Regions from separate parts of the Homo sapiens genome. Here region 1 is linked to region 2. The links are contacts of gene promoters, found by promoter capture Hi-C in blood cells and fetal thymus (Javierre and others, 2016). All regions are on one chromosome and are shown on one strand. The core of a region is centred on a gene start or on the middle of the fragment in contact, and the rest is flanking DNA. Distances in the headings are between cores, read along the strand shown. Region 1 has its middle 3.3 kb from the start of IFT27. Region 2 holds the start of NCF4-AS1 (NCF4 antisense RNA 1).

The links. Contacts are between HindIII fragments. The CHiCAGO score rates a contact against its expected background, and 5 or more counts as called.
Region 1: a fragment that was not itself captured here is called in contact with the fragment with the promoter of NCF4-AS1 in region 2 in 1 of 17 cell types (endothelial precursors); the score reaches 5.4 in endothelial precursors.

The regions. Positions count from the first base shown.
Region 1 is chr22:36,777,251-36,781,498 of GRCh38, forward strand. No RefSeq gene overlaps it. Among named protein-coding and RNA genes, the nearest start is that of IFT27, 3.3 kb to the left of the region's middle. RefSeq lists an enhancer at 1-261. The HindIII fragment of the contact is 3,486 bases long and covers 1-3,354 here.
Region 2 is chr22:36,868,980-36,872,989 of GRCh38, forward strand. NCF4-AS1 (NCF4 antisense RNA 1) reads right to left here and starts at 1,464. Exons shown (of 2, transcript NR_147197.1): 1 at 1,114-1,464. NCF4 (neutrophil cytosolic factor 4) reads left to right here. Exons shown (of 10, transcript NM_000631.5): 5 at 1,436-1,563; 6 at 2,673-2,730; 7 at 3,348-3,446. RefSeq lists an enhancer at 2,814-3,352. The HindIII fragment of the contact is 14,249 bases long and covers 963-4,010 here.

The DNA.
Region 1 (4,248 bases), core at 362-2,861, 92 kb before region 2:
TGCCTGTGCGAAAGTTCCACATTCCCTCCAGACACCTAGAACATTCCACCTCTCCGCCACTCTGCATCTCAGAGTGGCTGCCAGCCTTGTGTGGGGGAATAAACACACACACTCTATGAATGGCTGATGGTTTCAGCCCCGAATCCAGAGTAAATGCAAGTTGTCTGAGATGTTCTTTCCTTGGGATTCATTCCTGGCGCTACGGTAAAGGTCTGTTTCTCCTTCATTTCTCGTAACTGCTTTTCTTCTTTGGTGACATCACGTGAGTCTGTCTCAGACATCCAGGTCTGAGTGAGCAAAAAGCCTCTTTCTGGTCTTCTGCCTTCCTCTTGCCGGCTCCCCTCCAGGCCAACCTGTTCACCATGAGTGACCCTGTTAATCCCTTAAAGGACCCCATTTGGTGAGTCACCCTCCCGAGGCAGCTCCACGTAGCTAAGACACAGACACACATCAGGGCAGCCTCCGAAGCCTTGGTTCCTTCATTTTGCGAGGTGGGTAATGACAGAGCCGGAGCATAGCCATCTTGGACAAGCACTGCCATTTTAAAGTTCTCCTTGATCAAAAACGGCCTAAATTCAACCCAAAGGGCATCAGCCTAATGGCTAATGTCAGAATGACCATAAACCACAAGTGACATCTCCAATCAGAAACATTCCAACCCTAAGATAAACCCACCCCCCGACCAGAGACATGCAGCCCCAAGATAACCTCCCCTCTGGTCAGAGAGATGTCAGCCCCAACATAACCCACCCTCAGACCGGAGACATTCCAACCCCACAGTAAACTTCTCCTCCACACAGAAACATTCCAAGCCTGTGGTAAGCTCTCTTGCCCTAAACCCTTAAATACTCTTAGTCTGTAAGAGAGAGCACTCCTGACTGAAATTGGCCAGAAGCCCCTCTCAGGTTTATGCTCCAAAATAAACCTGTATTTAACTGTTGAGCCACTTTTCATGTTTCTTGCCTCTTTCTTTAACTCTTGCAGGTAATAATCACACCTCCCTCCCAGGGCTGTTCTCTGTTCCCCACCCACTGTCTCCCTTTTGTTGCTGCTACTCTGTGTGATTTTAGTCAGCATTATCATAAGAGCATTGTAGAACTTTCTAGAGAGATGGTAAACACTTGTATGGTGAATTCTGTCCCCCTTCACCTCATGGACCCAAGGGCCTTCTATACATTTCTGTGACTGAAGGTAAGCTGAATGAGAGTCACTAGGTTTAAGGTGGTCAGAGAATTTTGGAGCCATGGGGGCTCCTGAGCAATTCGAGTTATCCCATTTCTGAGCAGCTCTAATAGTCACAGCTGGCCTATGTTGACCACAGACTTAAGGCTGGCCTTGTTCTAAGTGATTTTAGGGATTAATTAGTTTAATTTCACATTTACATTTGATATTCACAATAACCATGTATCATCCCCATTTGATAGATGGGGAAACTAGGGCCCAAATGAGATTAAGTGAAACACCGAAGGTCACCTAGCTAGTGAGTAGCAGAGATGGATTTGAACTCCTTCTCACCCTTCCTAAAGAGCAAATACTTATTGAGTTCCTTGCCGTAATAACTTGCGTTGATTGAGCATTAGATGTGAGGCATCTGCTAAGCACTTCACATCCTCTCTCCTGTATGAAACCATGACCCTGGGAAGTGGAAACTCTCATTCATTTGAAGAAAGGAAAGAGCCACAGAGAGGCCAAGGTCATGCAACAAGTCAGCCAGATCCAGAACCAGCCTCAGATCTCTTGACTCTGGGGACCAATGTTTGTTTCTTTGTTTTCCCCCATTATCCAGCATAGTCTCTCCATTTTCATTAATTAGCTTTTCTTGAGTGCCTACCATCAGCCAGGCATGGTGTTGGTTGCTGGATCCACTGAAGGGTGGGGATGACAGAGCCCCAGGCTTTACCTCTGGGTGAGATATCACGGCAATGTGGGAATACGGGCCCAGGGTTGCACACTTTTCTAGAGGAGCCAGGAATCTGGATTTTTGTGTGAAATCCCCTGACCTGTTAGTGTTGGCAATGAACTTAAATTTAAAACACTGTAGCTGCAGTAGAAACCTCTGTTGACCGGTTCAACCTGGGGGCTGCTCATCTACGATCTTTGGTAAAGAAAGGAAGACCAACATGTGGACAAGTCACTGTGCCACAGGTGGATATGGGACTCCCTATGTACACCTCGAGGAGCATTCCTAACCCTGGGTGGATGGAGAGGGAGTCGGGAAGGATATTCTGAAAGGAGAGCCTTGTAGGAATTTGCGAGGTGGACACAGGGGAAGGCAAATGCTGGGTGGATGGGTCAGCACATGCAAAGGCTCAGAGCTCTGGGAGGGCAGCAGATGGAACACACGGTGGAATGGCAAGACCCAGAGTAGAACCCTTGTTTGAGGAATTAATTCAACAAATATTCTGTTGAGTGCTTGCTAAGCACTAGGACGTAGAGGTGGACAGAACCATCTAGCCCAGTGGAGCGGCAGATGATCAAGCAGTAATGATCTATGATTGCATGTAGTCAATGTTGAATAGGGGAGGATGTGGTGCAGAAAGAACAAATACCCTATGCTCTGATCCCTGGACTGGCACACCAGCATCACCTGGGGATTAGTAAGAAATGCATTTTCCCAGGCCCCACCCCTGACCAGCTGAACACTGGAGGTGGAGCCCACAATCTGCTTCCATAAGGCCTCCTGGTGACTCCGACACAAGCTCATGTTGAGAACTGCTTTTCTTAGCTAATGCCAGGACCCACCTTTATCTACTCTATTGGGTCATTTTACTGTTTTTCAAGCTCCTCGGGAACGTTCCCACCGCAGGGCCTTTGTACGCACTGTTCCCAATGAGGCTGTATGACTCTCCTTCATGATCTTCAGATCTCAGCTCAAACGTCATGCCTTCGGGGAGCCCTCCCAAACACACAATTTAAGCATCGCCCCCAATCTGTCAGTCTCAATATCCTTGACTTACTTTACTTTCTTCATAGCGTTCACTACTACCAGAGATTACACAGTCTGTCCCTCTGTATCCGTGGGGGATTGGTAACCATGGATATCAAAATCCAGGGCTACTCAAGTCCCCTATATAAAATGTTGTAATATTTGCACAAAACCTACACACGTCCTCCTGTATACTTTAAGTCACCTCTAGATTACTTTCAATAACTAATACAATGGAAATGCTATAGAAATATTGGTATACTGTATTTTATCTGTATTATTTTTATTGTTGTATTGTTATTTTTTTATTTTTGCAATGTGCAGTTAGTTGAATCCAGAGATGTGGAACCCGTGGATGCAGAGGGCCACCTATATTCCATATTTATTAGTTTATTTATATGGTATCTGTCGCCCTCCACTAGAAGGTAAGCTTCATGAGAACTGACACTTGGTCTCTTTTGTTCACCCAGTATCTAGGACAGTCCCCTGCATGGTGAGGCACCCCGTAAATACTTCTGAATGAATGAATGACTCTCATAGGGTTTACCCTTCCGGTTGTGTATTCATTCATTCAACAAGCACCAACTCTTGAATATCAGTTTTTGGGCAAGCAATGGGCTTACTACTGAGAGATGTGCAATGACCATTCAGATGGGGTAACCTCATCCTGGGTCCTCTCCCACCCCTAGCCTGCACCCCTAGCTACACCCATATGCTCTGTGGAAGAGGAAGTATTAACAGTGCTGCTTCCCAAAGCCAGGGACTAGACTGTTGGGGCTGATTACTGGGGCTTTGGATAAGAGGGGAGTGGAGGGGCAGCTGCTGACAAGTTGTTCCCAGAAATTGTTCAATCATCCTGGGGTTGAACACGTCCCGACATCCCTGAAGAGCAGCATGCGGATGAGCCACGGCTCCCTGCCAGGGACAGCAGCAACATTCCACGCACAGCGCCAGGGCTGATCATCCCCAATGCAGGGCCCAAGCCCCTTTGCCACTGTGTCTTGACAGCCAGGGGGTTCTCCTTCTGCCTGGGCCCCATCACAGCCCCTTCACTTATAGGGTGTAGTAGCAGAATTGTTGGATGGAATCCAACAATTGGGTAAATAGGAGATTTTAGGGGAAATTAAATAATTGAGAGTGATTCTGCATGAATTCTCAAGAAGAATATCTTTCATACATTAAAGCAGATTTGCTCAAATGCCCTCATGTCAGAGGCAATGCCAAAAAGAGAGTGCTAATAGATTTGTAGAAATTTTATGTATTTAGATCAGGGTTTCCCTACCTCGGCACTATTGACATTTGGGGGTGAAGGGTTCTTAGTT
Region 2 (4,010 bases), core at 214-2,713:
CCCTCATGAAGAATGTGAATCACATGATAATGACAACTGCCTGGAACTGCGTGAAGAGCTTTGACTGGCAACCAGGAGACTCTTGATACACGTTTATTGATAAATGAATAATCTTATTTAATCCCCTCAATAACTTGTGAGTTAAGTGTGACAGAGCAGTTAGGTAGGTGGGATGAGATTTGAATTCACATCTCTGTGACTCCAGGGTTTGAGCTCTTACCCACTGTGCCTCGTTGTAATGAAAATCACAGTAACAATGATGACATCTAACTTTGATGGGCACCTGGTATATGCCTGGTGTTGTTCTAAGGATTCTGCATGTATTTACTCATTTAATTCTCACACAATCCCACGAGGGAGAGGCTATTATTGTCCCCATTTTATTAATGACCATCTGGAGCCAGGTTTGCCCAAAGCCACCCAGCTGGTGACAGGCAGAGCTGGGATTCGATCCCAGGAGCCCCTGGCTCCTTAAACACCTCCCAGGCTGTCCCCATATGACAGCCTTTTCCGGGCTCTGCATCCCCAGTTCCTCTCGGACAAAGTTCCCCGACCCCACCTCATCCTGCTGCCCCCATGGGATCCTCTGCAGGGCTCTGGGTGCCTCTGGAGCCTCAGCACCCAAAGCCAACCCTCAGTGTCCCCAGACCTGTGCGCTTGGAGTTTGGTGAGATGACCCCGCCAGGCTCTGGGTGCTCGCGTCCTCACAGCTTCAAAGTCTTTGCATCGTGGTGGGTGTAACCAGCTTGGATGAAACAAGGACACTAGGGCTCAAGTCCGGGCCCTGTCACTTAGCTCGGCTCCTCTGGGCCAGGTACTTTCCCTCTCCAAGCATCAGTTTCCTCAACTATGATATGAGATAAAGTATCAGGAAGCATTTTGTAGGCTATAATGCCACCAACTGTTGTTAATTTGGGTTATTTTGGGAGCCCCCCACCCCCGCCAACTGTTGTCTCACCTTAAGCTTTGGGTAGCCTTTAGTGGCAGATGGCTCTGGGTGCCCCAGCTCTGTCCCTTGCTAGGCTTTGTGGCCTTGAGCATATCCCTTCACCTCTCTGATCCTAACTCAAGGGATGTCATGAGATGGAGCAAGGGCGCGCATGTGATACCCACCTGGTAAAGTCACCGCCGGGTCATGTTAGTTGTCATCACCATTACTGCTGTTTCTGGAGAACTTTAAGTCTTTTCCAAATGGACTCTTCTCAAGCCCCTGGTCCCTCTCCTGACCTTGGACCCAGGAGCAGAGCTTGTGAAGTGTTACCTTCAGCATGCTGAGTTTTCTTATTCTTTTAAACAACGCATTTCTGTTATCAGGCATCATGCATTAGTAAAGAGAGGAGGGCTGATGTCAGGGCTCGGGGACGGGACATCTAGGCTGGGGTGTCCAGATCTTTCTGCTGACTACCCCACCGGTTCTGCTGTCTCACCCACACAGAGCCTGCTCAGCCTGCCGGTCTGGGTGCTGATGGATGAGGACGTCCGGATCTTCTTTTACCAGTCGCCCTATGACTCAGAGCAGGTGCCCCAGGCACTCCGCCGGCTCCGCCCGCGCACCCGGAAAGTGTAAGTGACCAGCCCCTGGGCTTCCACATGGCCAGAGCCCTGGGTCCCTGCTGGAAAAGCATCTCTTTTCCCTGAAAGGAGAGAAGGAAAATACAGATCAGCCATATCCCTGGACACTCCAGGATGATTTGATTTATTAGATGGGTTTAGAAAGTCATGTTCAGGCTTGGAGGGACAGAGGGTGTGTGCCTTTCAATGTGATAATAAGGATTGGAAGACGAGGACTGGGATATTGACTCCAGAGAGTTTGGTGCCACAGCAACTACTGGGGATAGCCCAGAAGCTCTGGGTGCCTGGAAAGAATTGGGGGCAGAGAGGAGGGAAAAGCTGCCCCATCCACAAACATTCTCTGAGCATCTCTGGGAATGCCTTCTCCCTGGTGTGTTGGAGCTCCATGGGGCCAGCTATGGCTCTAGTTGTATCATGCTGGCCTCCAGAGCACACTGTTCCTCCCTTATTCCAAAAAGCCCATCCTTCCCACCAAAAATTCAAGCCACTCGTAGACTGCTGGGCTTCCAAAGCCCAGGTTGCTGCTACTAAGAATTCTGGGAAAAGCAGGACGGAGCTCCTGAGCTCCCCACCAGCTCCTCCCTCTGCTTCCTCCCACCAATGTCTCCAAGGGTCCTCTCCATGCCTGGCATCTCCCCTGTGCACACAGGCAGGTGTGTCTTAATTCCAGCTGTGCCATGTGGCAGCCGCAGGCCCCAGAGCAAGGCACTTCACCTCTCCAACCTTCAGTTTCCCTCAGCTGAAAAATTAGAAACAGTCACATTTACATCAGAGCTTGGTTGTAGGGAGCAGAGGAACAAACACATCTGAACACTTTGGCAAGTGAAAGGCACCGAATGAGCGTGTATCCCCTTCCCCACCTGCTTTCTGAGCCTGGCTTCCTGGTCCATAAAGAAGGGAGAACAATCCCACCTCCAAAGAGGTTGTGAGGATTTGGGGACAAGTGTGCCCGCCCAGAGGAGCAATTGCAGCCACATTTCAGCATCTTCTGTCTCCTCTGCCTTCCCTGCTCCTTGCAAGGGGCTCCTCTGGACACAGGAGCAGGAAGCTGGGCCCTGAGAGAATCACAGGGCTAACAAGCCCCTCTTCTCTCTCCACAGCAAGAGCGTGTCCCCACAGGGCAACAGCGTTGACCGCATGGCAGCTCCGAGAGCAGAGGTAACCCCCGCCCCCACGCTGGCCAGGCTCTCACACTGTGGGCATCTGCCTTGGCCCACCTGCCAGCCACTGGGCCTCTCCTGCTGGGTGCTGCTGTGTGCCTGGGACAGTGCTGGGCACCAGGAGGAAGGAAGGGGTTACAGCCTCAGCCTCTGCCACTGGGGGTCCCCCGAGCCCAGCTAAGGGGAGGGCATGTGACCAGCGTGCGGAGCCAGAGGAGAATGCTTCCATCCCTACGCTCATCCGGACAGTTTACCTGGGCCTCCTCTGAGTCAGCCCTGCCTTAGGCATGGAAGCTGCAGAGATGACTCAGACAAGGCCCAGCCCACGATGAAGCCTGGGGACCAGGGTGGGTGCTCAGCCCAGAGAGTTCGAACCCTTCCCTGTGTGCTCACCCCCACCAGGTTTGGAAGGAGCACCCATCCTGGAGTCAGGGAGACCTGGGTTCAATTCCCAGCTCCTCCACTAAAAAATGGGGTGGCCTCAGAGAAGTCGCTTATTCTCCCCAAGCCTCAGTTTCTACATCTGTAAAATGGGAGACTAAAGTATGTAAGGCACTTCTATAGGAACTCAGTGAGTGTTCTCTCCTTCCCTCCTTACTGCACGCTTCTCCTCAGGCTCTATTTGACTTCACTGGAAACAGCAAACTGGAGCTGAATTTCAAAGCTGGAGATGTGATCTTCCTCCTCAGTCGGATCAACAAAGACTGGCTGGAGGTGAGTTCAGAAGTGAGGATGGAGGTGAGATTGAAGGTGAGGTTGGAGGGAAATTAAAAGTGAAGATAGAGGTGAGGGTGGAAGTGCAATTGGAGGTGAGGATGAAGGTGAGGGTGGAGGTGAGATTGGAGGTGAGGATGGAGGTAAGAGTGGAGGTGAGGATGGAGGTGAGATTGGAGGTGAGGATGAAGGTGAGATTGGAGGTGAGGGTGGAGGTAAGAGTGGAGATGAGATTGGAGGTGAGGATGGAGGTGAGATTGGAGGTAAGGTTGGAGGTGAGATTGGAGGTGAGGTTGGAGGTGAGATTGGAGATGAGATTGGAGGTGAGGATGGAGGTGAGGGTGGAGATGAGGGTGAAGGTGAGGATGGAGATTGAGGGTGGAGATGAGGGTGAAGGTGAGGATGGAGGTAAGGGTGGACGTGAGGATGGGGGTGAGACTGGCAGTAAGGTTGGAGGTGAGGATGGAGGTGAGATTGGAGGTGAGGGTGGAGGTGAGACTGGAGGTGAGGATGGAGGTGAGATTGGAGGTGAGATTGGAGGTGAGGGTGGAGGTAAGGGTGGAG